Regions from separate parts of the Homo sapiens genome. Here region 2 is linked to region 1. The links are contacts of gene promoters, found by promoter capture Hi-C in blood cells and fetal thymus (Javierre and others, 2016). All regions are on one chromosome and are shown on one strand. The core of a region is centred on a gene start or on the middle of the fragment in contact, and the rest is flanking DNA. Distances in the headings are between cores, read along the strand shown.

Evidence for each region. Contacts are between HindIII fragments. The CHiCAGO score rates a contact against its expected background, and 5 or more counts as called.
Region 2: a contact is called between the fragment with the promoter of PLS1 here and the fragment with the promoter of PLS1-AS1 in region 1, in 1 of 17 cell types (megakaryocytes). The highest score is 5.5, in megakaryocytes.

The regions. Positions count from the first base shown.
Region 1 is chr3:142,653,917-142,658,619 of GRCh38, forward strand. It overlaps PLS1-AS1 (PLS1 antisense RNA 1), which reads right to left and starts at 2,894. Exons shown (of 4, transcript XR_001740938.2): 1 at 2,642-2,894. All of the region lies in intron 1 of PLS1 (plastin 1), which reads left to right. The HindIII fragment of the contact is 6,495 bases long and covers 361-4,703 here.
Region 2 is chr3:142,593,839-142,598,596 of GRCh38, forward strand. PLS1 (plastin 1) reads left to right here and starts at 2,555. Exons shown (of 16, transcript NM_001145319.2): 1 at 2,555-2,671. PLS1-AS1 (PLS1 antisense RNA 1) reads right to left here. Exons shown (of 4, transcript XR_001740938.2): 4 at 2,071-3,459. RefSeq lists an enhancer at 2,611-2,850. The HindIII fragment of the contact is 10,696 bases long and covers 1-4,044 here.

The sequences.
Region 1 (4,703 bases), core at 1,644-4,143:
TTAGGAGAAACTGATTCTTACCCATCTTTATATCTTCATTTAGCCCAGCCAAATAGGATTTATTTGTTGAATACATGAATGAATGAATTTAAACTCCCTTACTAGGGGCCACATGTTGGGGCTTTTAAGTAAATAGTAGAAAAGTCTTGGTGGCAAGTCTGACAGCCACTGAAGGCCATCCCAAATTGCAAATGCATGGGAATATAATGACCGTGGCTGGTCATGGAGATGACCATGGTGGCGGCCCGTGTGGTGAGGCAGTAGGGAGGGGATGTAGGTAAGCCCTGTCTGTTCTCTGCTTTGCTAGAAGATTTCTTTGTTTATATATCTAGTGTTTGCACAAGAGGATCAGAACTTAAAAGCTTCACCTAGGGAAGAATGAAGGCTATATCATTAACTCCTTTGTAAAATGATTAGGAAAAAGTTTACAAATACTATTATTTTTTTGAGACAGAATCTTGCTCTGTCGCCCAGGCTGGAATGCAATGGCACAATCATAGCTCACTATAGCCTCAAACTCCTAGGCTCAAGTGATGCTCCCATCTCAGCCTCCCAAGTAGTAGGACTATAGGTGCGTACCACCATGCCTGGCTAACTTAAAATTTTTTTTCTTTTTTTGTAGAGACAAAGTCTCACTATGTTGCCCAGGCTGGTCTTGAACTCCTGACCTCAAGCAATCCTCTGGCCTTGGCCTCCCAAAGTGTGGGGATTACAGCATGAACCACTGCCCCTGGCCCAACAAAAATTATTTTGATAGATTTAGAAGAAACACCATGTATAAACATGTGGATTAAAAAATTTGAATGCTGTCAAATTAGTCTTTGTGCTTCCAATACACAGCACAGTAAAGAGGTACAGCAAACAAGTGCTCAATAAGTTGTTGTTGAATAAATAAATGGGTAAGTGAATGAAGAGAACTGGTTATTGACGTATAGAAACTCTTCATCTCCTCTTGTCAGTTGGTGGCACATTTCCCATAAACTGTTGTTTTATTTGGCCCTTTGTTATCTAGTACTCCTTATGCTCTGTGAAGAGAAATATTAGAGAAATATTACCTTTAATGAATTTTACTAACCTTTCCCCACATATACAACACAAGGCCAGTGGGAATATAAAAATATAAAATATCCTTTACCTGCAAGGAGCAAACAATGATAGGAAGGTGGGATGAAAATAAAATAGCAAAATAAGACCATTACAACACAACACATAACCAAGAATAAATTAATGTACATGAACGGAATAATACATAAGAAATGAAGACACTGAGCAAAGGAAAAGACAGAGGTGATGAAGTCTTATGCCAATGGGAAGGCGTTAAGGATATGGGGGAATCGGCCTTCCAAGCTGTCAAGTTGAGAGTGGAGAACAGAGACCGCATTAATTTGGCAATGTGGGGTATAATGAAATGGTAAATACTTGGGAAGACTGAAGCAGAAAAAAGTCCCAATGTTAAAATAACAGTGTATTGTTATTTTTTGTTTTTGTAGGAGATTGTCAGGCCTCCCTTTAAGAGATCACAAGCCGGGCACCGTGGCTCATGCCTGTAATCCCAGCACTTTGGGAGGCTGAGGTGGGTGGATCGGCTGAGGTCAGGAGTTCGAGACCAGCCTGGCCAACATAGTGAAACTCCGTCTCTACTAAAAATACAAAAAATTAGCTGGGCGTGGTGGCGGGCGCCTGCAATCCCAGCTACCAGGGAGGCTGAGGCAGGAAAATCGCTTGAACCTGGGAGGTGGAGGTTGCAGTGAGCTGAGATCATGCCATTGCACTCCAGCCTGGGCAACAAGAACAAAATTCCGTCTCAAAAAAAAAAAAAAAAAAAAGATCACAAAAGAGTTAGTCAGTTTGGAACCAGTGTCACTTTACCCCCGGTGCGCTGTTCCTGGCTTAACACTTCATAATGGTGCATAATTGAAGTTCTCGAGGTCTCTAGGATTGTCTAAGCATGTGGGAAATTATTTTATGTGTTTGAAAATAAAATTGTCTTTTTAAAATAGCCCAGGATTTGGCAAATCCAGGCTGTTGGCAATCAAATTAATTACTTTTTTTTGTTTGTTTTTGAGATAGAGTCTCACTCCGTCACCCAGGCTGGAGTGCAGTGGTGCAATCTCAGTTCACTGCAACCTCCACCTCCCTGGTTCAAGCAATACTTGTGCCTCAACCCCCCAAGTAGCTGGGATTATAGGTGCATGCCATCAGGCCTGGCTAATTTTTGCATTTTTAGTAGAGACAGGATTTCACCATGTTGGCCAGGCTGGTCTCGAACTCCTGACCTCAAGTGATCTGCCTGCCTTGGCCTCCCAAAATGCTGGGATTACAGGCATGAGCCACTGCACTCGACCAATTTTTAAGAAAAGTTTTCTATCATAGCTGTCCCTTGTGAATGAATGAAAAAGTTGAGCTCAGTTATTTTAGTGCTGAAGGATGCTCAGGAAATCTTTGAATTATATTGCACCATTTTCATATATTTTACCCTTTGTCCAAAGGACAGTCAAGGCTGTTATGTAGAGTAGGAGACTAATATTTAACAAAATAAATGATATCCCAATTCATACTTATATTCAACAGTCAGTAGACATTCCAGTTAAAGAAAATCTGATAAAAAATGGACAGGTTGATATGGAATATGAATACTTACTTTTTCCAAAATGAATGATACAGCTCCCTGTTGTGAAATGTTGTTGAATAAGGAGATTGCTAGACATATAGATGAAAATATTTTCCAGGTTTTCCTTTAAACTAGAAGGAAAATTCTTCAACTATTTCATAGCTGTTTTTTTTCACATAGTGATTTATTTCAGTGACCTTGTGATCTGTAAACTTGTAATGGAGGGCTGAAAATGGGAAGTAACATAGGAAAAGGGAAGGGCTGTGGTGAGAGAGACAATAATTTGCAAAGAAGAAGAGGACATGGGGTACCAGTAGAACTTCTACTCACCAGAGATACTGAAATATTCTAGAACCTCTGATCTCAGTCAATTCTCCATAGGAACACTATCAAGTCTTTTTCCATAAAAGTCAGATAAAAGAAAGATCACATTTCTTGATATTCTTTGAAGCAACTTTATTTTTATTGTCATGCTTCATCCTGCCCGAATACTGCCAAGTCTTTCTCAGGCACCTGGAATCTGCTCCTCAGCCTCTGTTGTCCTGGGTCTAATGTAGAGCAAAAGGCTGAGAGGAAGCTCTTCTATTCTCCATCATCGGTCTTCAGTGGCTACCTGGGAAACACCCCTTGGCTTAGTCGGCAGATTCTCTCCGGTGAGGTTCTGTTGCACCTGCCACTCCTAGGGCAGCAAGCAGCAGTCTTACTTGCTGGCACCTAGAGATTTCCCTTCCTCCCTGTGGGGGCAATCTTTCCCTCTCACTGCCTTCCTCATCTAGTGGTTTCTCAGAGGTGGCCTCTTCCCCCTGATCCGATTGCCAGGACATCCAACCTAAGTAAGCCCTCTAGGAGGTTCATGCTTCTTCCCAAAGACTGAGGGAACCACAGATTCTAGCCTGGTTTTGCCTTCTGTGCTGCCAGAGTCCCTCAGATAAGAAAGTGTTATAGTGTTATTGCTGTTTTGTTTTGTTTTGTTTGTTTGAGACGGAGTCTCACATTGTCACCCGAGCTGGTGTACAGTGGCGCGATCTCTGCTTGCTGCAACCTCCCCACCTCCTGGGTTCAAGCAATTCTCCTGCCTCAACCTCCCAAGTAGCTGGGACTATAGGCGTGTGCCACCACACCTGGCTAATTTTTGTATTTTTAGTAGAGACGGGGTTTCACTGTGTTGGCCAGGCTGGTCTCAAACTCCTGACCTCATGATCCGCCCACCTCGCCCTCCCAAAGTGCTGGGATTTCAGGCGTGAGCCACCACGCCCAGTGTGTTATTGCTTTAATTGAGGAGGAAAAAGAATAAACACAATTTAACATTTCAATAAATTATTCTCCCACAATAATATTAATTATTTTAATTTCTCAAGATTGAAGTAGTTAAGTTTCCTAAAGCCTTGGTAAAATTTCCCCTGTTCAAAAACATATTCTTGGTCATCTTTATTTTTTATTATTTTTATGGCTTGATTTTCCTTTATTAGTGGCTTGTGGCTTTGGATTAAGAAGCATCCTTTTTTCTCTTTAAGAATAATTTTTTATAATATGAATTATTTAAAGCAAAAGACTAAAATACAGAATCAATATAACCTATGTCCATGTACTCACTTCCTAGATTGAGCAGACATTAGCATTTTGCCATAACTGCTTCAACTGTATCTTTAAAAAATATGTAACAGGCTGAGGACATTGGCTCATGCCTGTAATCTGAGCACTTTGAGAGGCTGAGGCAGGCAGATCACTTGAGGTCAGGAGTTAGAGACCAGCCTGGCCAACATGGTGAAACCCTGTCTCTGCTAAAAATACAAAAAAAATTAGCCAGATGTGGTGATGGGTGCCTGTAGTCCCAGCTACTCGGGAGGCTGAGGTAGGAAAATTGCTTAAACCTGGGAGGCAGAGGCTGCGGTGAGCTGAGATCATGCCACTGCACTCCAGCCTGGGCAACAAAGTGAGACTTTGTCTCCAAAAAAAAAAAAAAAAGATGTAACAGATTCAGCCCTACCCTGCAAGCCCTGCTCCTTGCCTCCCTCTACATAGACCACCACTATTCTGAATTTGTTGTGTTATTCTCATGTATGTTTAAGTTTTACTACATAGGTATGGGATC
Region 2 (4,758 bases), core at 1,305-3,804, 60 kb before region 1:
TGAGCTGAGGTCGTGCCACTGAACTCCAGCCGGGGCAACAGAGCGAGACTCAGTCTCAAAAAAACAAAATTATCAGTGAAACCCTTTTATCAAATAAGATTTCACAAGATACTACAATATGTAAGCAGTCTGGGTTAGGGTCCTTGATCCAGAGCCCTGCGTATTTTTCTCTCCATGAAACCCAGAGCTCCTGGAAACACAGTTTGAATACCTTATTTGTCATTGCTAGTGATACAATCAGTTAAGCAGGTAACAATTTTCTTTATATAATTATTACACGCTGGTTGTGCATTTCTTTTTTTTTTTTTTCTGAGACAGAGTCTCGCTCTGTCGCCCAGGTTAGAGTGTAGTGGCTTGATCTTGGCTCACTGCAACCTCTGCCTCCTGGGTTCAAGAGATTCTCCTGCCTCAACCACCTGAGTAGCTGGGATTACAGGCGCTTGCCACCACGACCGGCTAATTTTTGTATTTTTAGAAGAGACGGGGTTTCATCATGTTGCTCAGGCTGGTCTTGAACTCCTGACCTTAGGTGATCTGCCCACTTTGGCCTGCCAACGTGCTGGGATTACAGGCGTGAGCTACTGCACTGGGCCCTGGTTGTGCATTTCTAATGATATACTCTAGTTATTATTTTACACTTGGAAACAATTTTGGGAAACGGTTTTATCAATGGTATATTTACAAATCATATCTTAGGGTTGGCTGCTTTTACAGAGGGTTGTTACAGACATTTTATATGCATTATTTTTAGCTTCATTTACAGAGGATGACTTTTTATTTTACCTTTCCCAAATCAGGTTATACCATATTTAGAATCTACGTTTCCTCATGAACCTGCCCTGGTCAATATTACCACGAAAAAAAAACAGATCATAAGAGTATTTCATGAAAAAGTGTTCTCTTATCAAACTTATTGGTGAATAATTTACACACATTTTTCATGTTTAAAGTGTACAACTTAGCGATGACAGTTGTATACACCTGTGAACTTGTCACTACCATCAAAACAGAGAAAATTTCCATCGTCCCCCTCCAAAAATATTTTTTCTGCTCATTTGCAGTTTATCCTTCCCTCCACTCCTGGCTCCAGGCAATTACTAATCTGGGTTTTGTCATTATAGGTTAGTTTGTACTTCATATAAGTGGGATTATACAATATGTTTTGTCTCTAGCTTCTTCAACTCAGCATACCGATTTTGAGAGTTATCCATATTGAGTCCTGTGTGAGAGTATTTCTTCTTTTTTATTGTTGAGTAGTATTGCATTGTATAAATATACCACAATTTGTTTTTTCATTTACATGTTGTTGGACAGTTGGGTTCCTTCTGGTTTGGGGCTTTTGTGAAAAACAGCTGCTATGAGCATTCCTGTTCAAGTTTTTGTGTAAGCATATGTTTTAATTTCTCTTGGATAACATCTAGGAATGAAATGGCTGGGTCATATGTTAGATGTATGTTTACCTTTTAAGGAAATATTTTGCTTTATTTTGTGAGAACTTACTTAACTCCCCTTGCATATCTAGATAAATAAGTATCAGATAAGGATACTAAATTTACCAGATTCTCTAGGTGGCAGGTGGGAAAAATCAGATAAGAATACTAAATTCACCTGATTCTCTAGGTGGCAGGTGGGAAAAATTCCTTATCTTCCCTCTCCATGGCCCACCTACTTTCATAGTTCATTGCTCGTCCAATTTGTTTGAGTTCTTAAAATAATTTCAACTTCCCCCCTTTATTTTTTCTATTGTTACCATCTCAGGGTTGGTTGGGTGCCTATTCTGTATTGGATATTGTGTTAGGCGCAGAAGGGGCACGTGGGACTTTGAGTTAAAGGGGCAGCAAAACCTTGTTCTGTTCTCTGGACTGAGTTGGACAGACCACAACTACGGATTATGCTTCAGGCAAAGTATGTGAGAACTCTTGAGGCAGCATTCCATTTACCTGACTCACATGCGAGAGAAAATATCCCACTTTTGTTTGAGTGTGGGCTTTAGTTATATATTTATTTTAATCAGGTGTGGCTGTTAAAGGAAAAGGAAGCAATCCGTGAAACAAACGGAAAAAAAAAGAGTAGGGGAGAGAAACAAGTCTTCCTTTAATAACGTATACCTTTCCTTTTGACCAGCAGGTCCCAAAGTGTGGTACCCAGACTAGTAGCACCAGTTTTCGCTGAGAACATGTTAGAAATGGGAACTGTCGCGCTACGCTCCAGACCTAACTGAATCGGAAACTCAGTTTCCGGGTTTGGGATCTGTGATTTAAAAAGCTCTCCAGGTGATTCTGATCCACGCTCAAGTTTGAGAACTGCTGTGCTAAACTCATTCCCAGGGTGTAGGTGGTCATCTTTAGACTTGGGTAACTGTGGGCGGTAGAGATAACGTTGCCGCAGCGCCCGTCCACCTCTCCCCATCCACGCTCCCAGCGCCTGCAACTCCTCTTTCACCCTTAGCCTAAACCCAGGTTCTGGGCTTCCCTTTCCCTCCCCTGGGAGCCGCAGGCAAAACGCGGCAAGTGGATTCAGAGTTTGCGGGCCCGGGTGCCGGCCGAGCATGCGCAGTGGCGCGAGCGCAGCGGCTACGCGGGCGCGGAGAGGTAGCCGCAGAGTGGACCTGCAGGTACTTGGATCTCCAGTGGGAGCTGCCCTCTCGAAGGCAGGACAGCGGTGGCGGCAGGTACGCGGGGGTGGGGATAGGGCCCAAAAGGAAGGCTGGACAGACAGATGGAAAGCGAAGCGTTACTCCTTTGGGGGCGCGCGGCGGCTCGGGGGCAGTATCTCCGGGTCCCCTCGCTCGCGTCTCGTCTCCTGGCTGTGCAGTGTGGCGCCCGCCGTCCTCTGGGCACGCTTCTGCCCAGTCCCGGCAGGCAGTGCCCGCAGGTGTTAAATCGCGTATTTACACTGCTTAAACAATAAGCCTGTTAACTGAATTGTGATTCTATGCAATGAAATAAGGTATTTCATTAAGTTTTCTTCTTTCAACTTTGGGTGGCTGCCGGTGAGGCTTTCTGAACCAGCCTGTTTTGTTTTAATTCTGGGACTGGTTTATTTGCCTTTGGCCTTTTGGTGCATAGGATCAATAGGGCTGTAGTGAAATCCCATCCGTGCTGTTTTTGGTACCTTTCCTGGAGCATAGGGACCTCTGGATGCGGCATAAAAATGTCAGTTTTCAGCGAATTTCACTGCCAAAAAACTTTCCGTGTTTCAGCTGCATTTTCAAGTGGAGACTTAAAAAAATTTAAGATTTCTCCCTAACTTTTCAATTATTACTGTATTTCGGTCTTCATTTGGTACTATTAAAAGGAAGCGGTCGTTTAGATGAGTAACAGAATTCTCACTTTTCCTCCTTTACTTACTTACTATGTCACATTTTATGGCTTATACCGTGATATCTTTCCCTCCAGCCACGGTGTTGGATACACTTGTATGAGGCTTCAGCTGTGCTGCATAAATTTCTTGAAGAACCTGTGAGCCAGAAGCAAAATTTCAGGACAGGGGGCACACACTGAACTTGAAGCAAGTACTTTTACACCCCCCACCACCTTTGTAATCAGCTTTCCTTTAAGTTGAATTATGTAATGAAATTCTATAGTAAAGTGTTAATGTGTAATGTGGAGGCATATATATATATAGAGAGAGAGGTAGTAAGTTTAGGAAGAGGAAATTTTAAGTTCAGGAAGAGAAACCTATATGGAAAGGGAATACAGGTATCCTGCCCCCCTTCATTCCTCCCATGATAAATGTTTTAATGGCAGAAATAATATACAGCTGGTCTAGTTTTGGCTGTAGAGACCTTTGAGGTCAGCCAGTTCAGCTGCTTCAGTTTACAAATGAGAAAACTGAGACCAGCGAGGTTAGATGACTTGCTGTGGCCACCCAAGCCCCTCATTGGCAAAGCTAGGCCTGGGATCCAGGTTTTCTCATTTTCTGGGGTCTTTTTACCACTCCCTGCAGATACTCTTCTTTACCTCCATTATTAAACTTCCTTTTTCTCTTCTACTTATACCATGAAGTCTGGCTTAAGCAGAAAATTAGTTGTTTCTCTTACTAAGCTTCCTAGTACCTCATAAATTCCTTTCAAAAAGTGCCCTTTCACTGAAGCCCCACCTAACAATTTGCTGGTCCTGAAAACGCCCTCCTTCCTTCCCTCAGTCACCTGGGCCCTTTGCCCAAAATGCCTGTTTGCCTCCCTCTTTCCGTATTGAAGTCCTGCTCATGCTGCAAGGTGTAGCTCAGGTGTGACCTCTTTTTGGAAGCCTTCCTTGATTGCCTTAGCATGAAGTAGCTCTCCCTCTTCTGAACCCTATAGCACTTACTACTGTTGTTTGTGCTGTTAGTATCCCCATTGTATATAGTATCCTGAGTATTTTAGCACCTCCCAACTTCCCGACCAGGAAGTTGGCAGGTTGTGTAAGCTCTTGGAGGTTAAAGCCTATGACTTAAACATCCCACCCAGCACTAAGCACAAAGTATATTCTTAGCCCCTGTTTGTGGGAGGGAGTGGGGGAAGGAAGTGCAGTATGTATAGTTTTGTAAAGAGATTTCATGTGTGTTCTATAATATGGGGAAGGCCATGTTAGAGCTGTATCAAGACAGCAGCCAAGTCCATTTCTGATTCCTCATATTTTGATAACAGATCACAGATTAGTTAGGGGGATTACAGGAGACAGGCGTAAAAACACGGGTCAGTTGGTCCAGGCCCTGGATTAAGCCTGTGACTCAAAGTGGAGAAAAGAGGGCACAGAATTAAGAAATGTAAAGGAA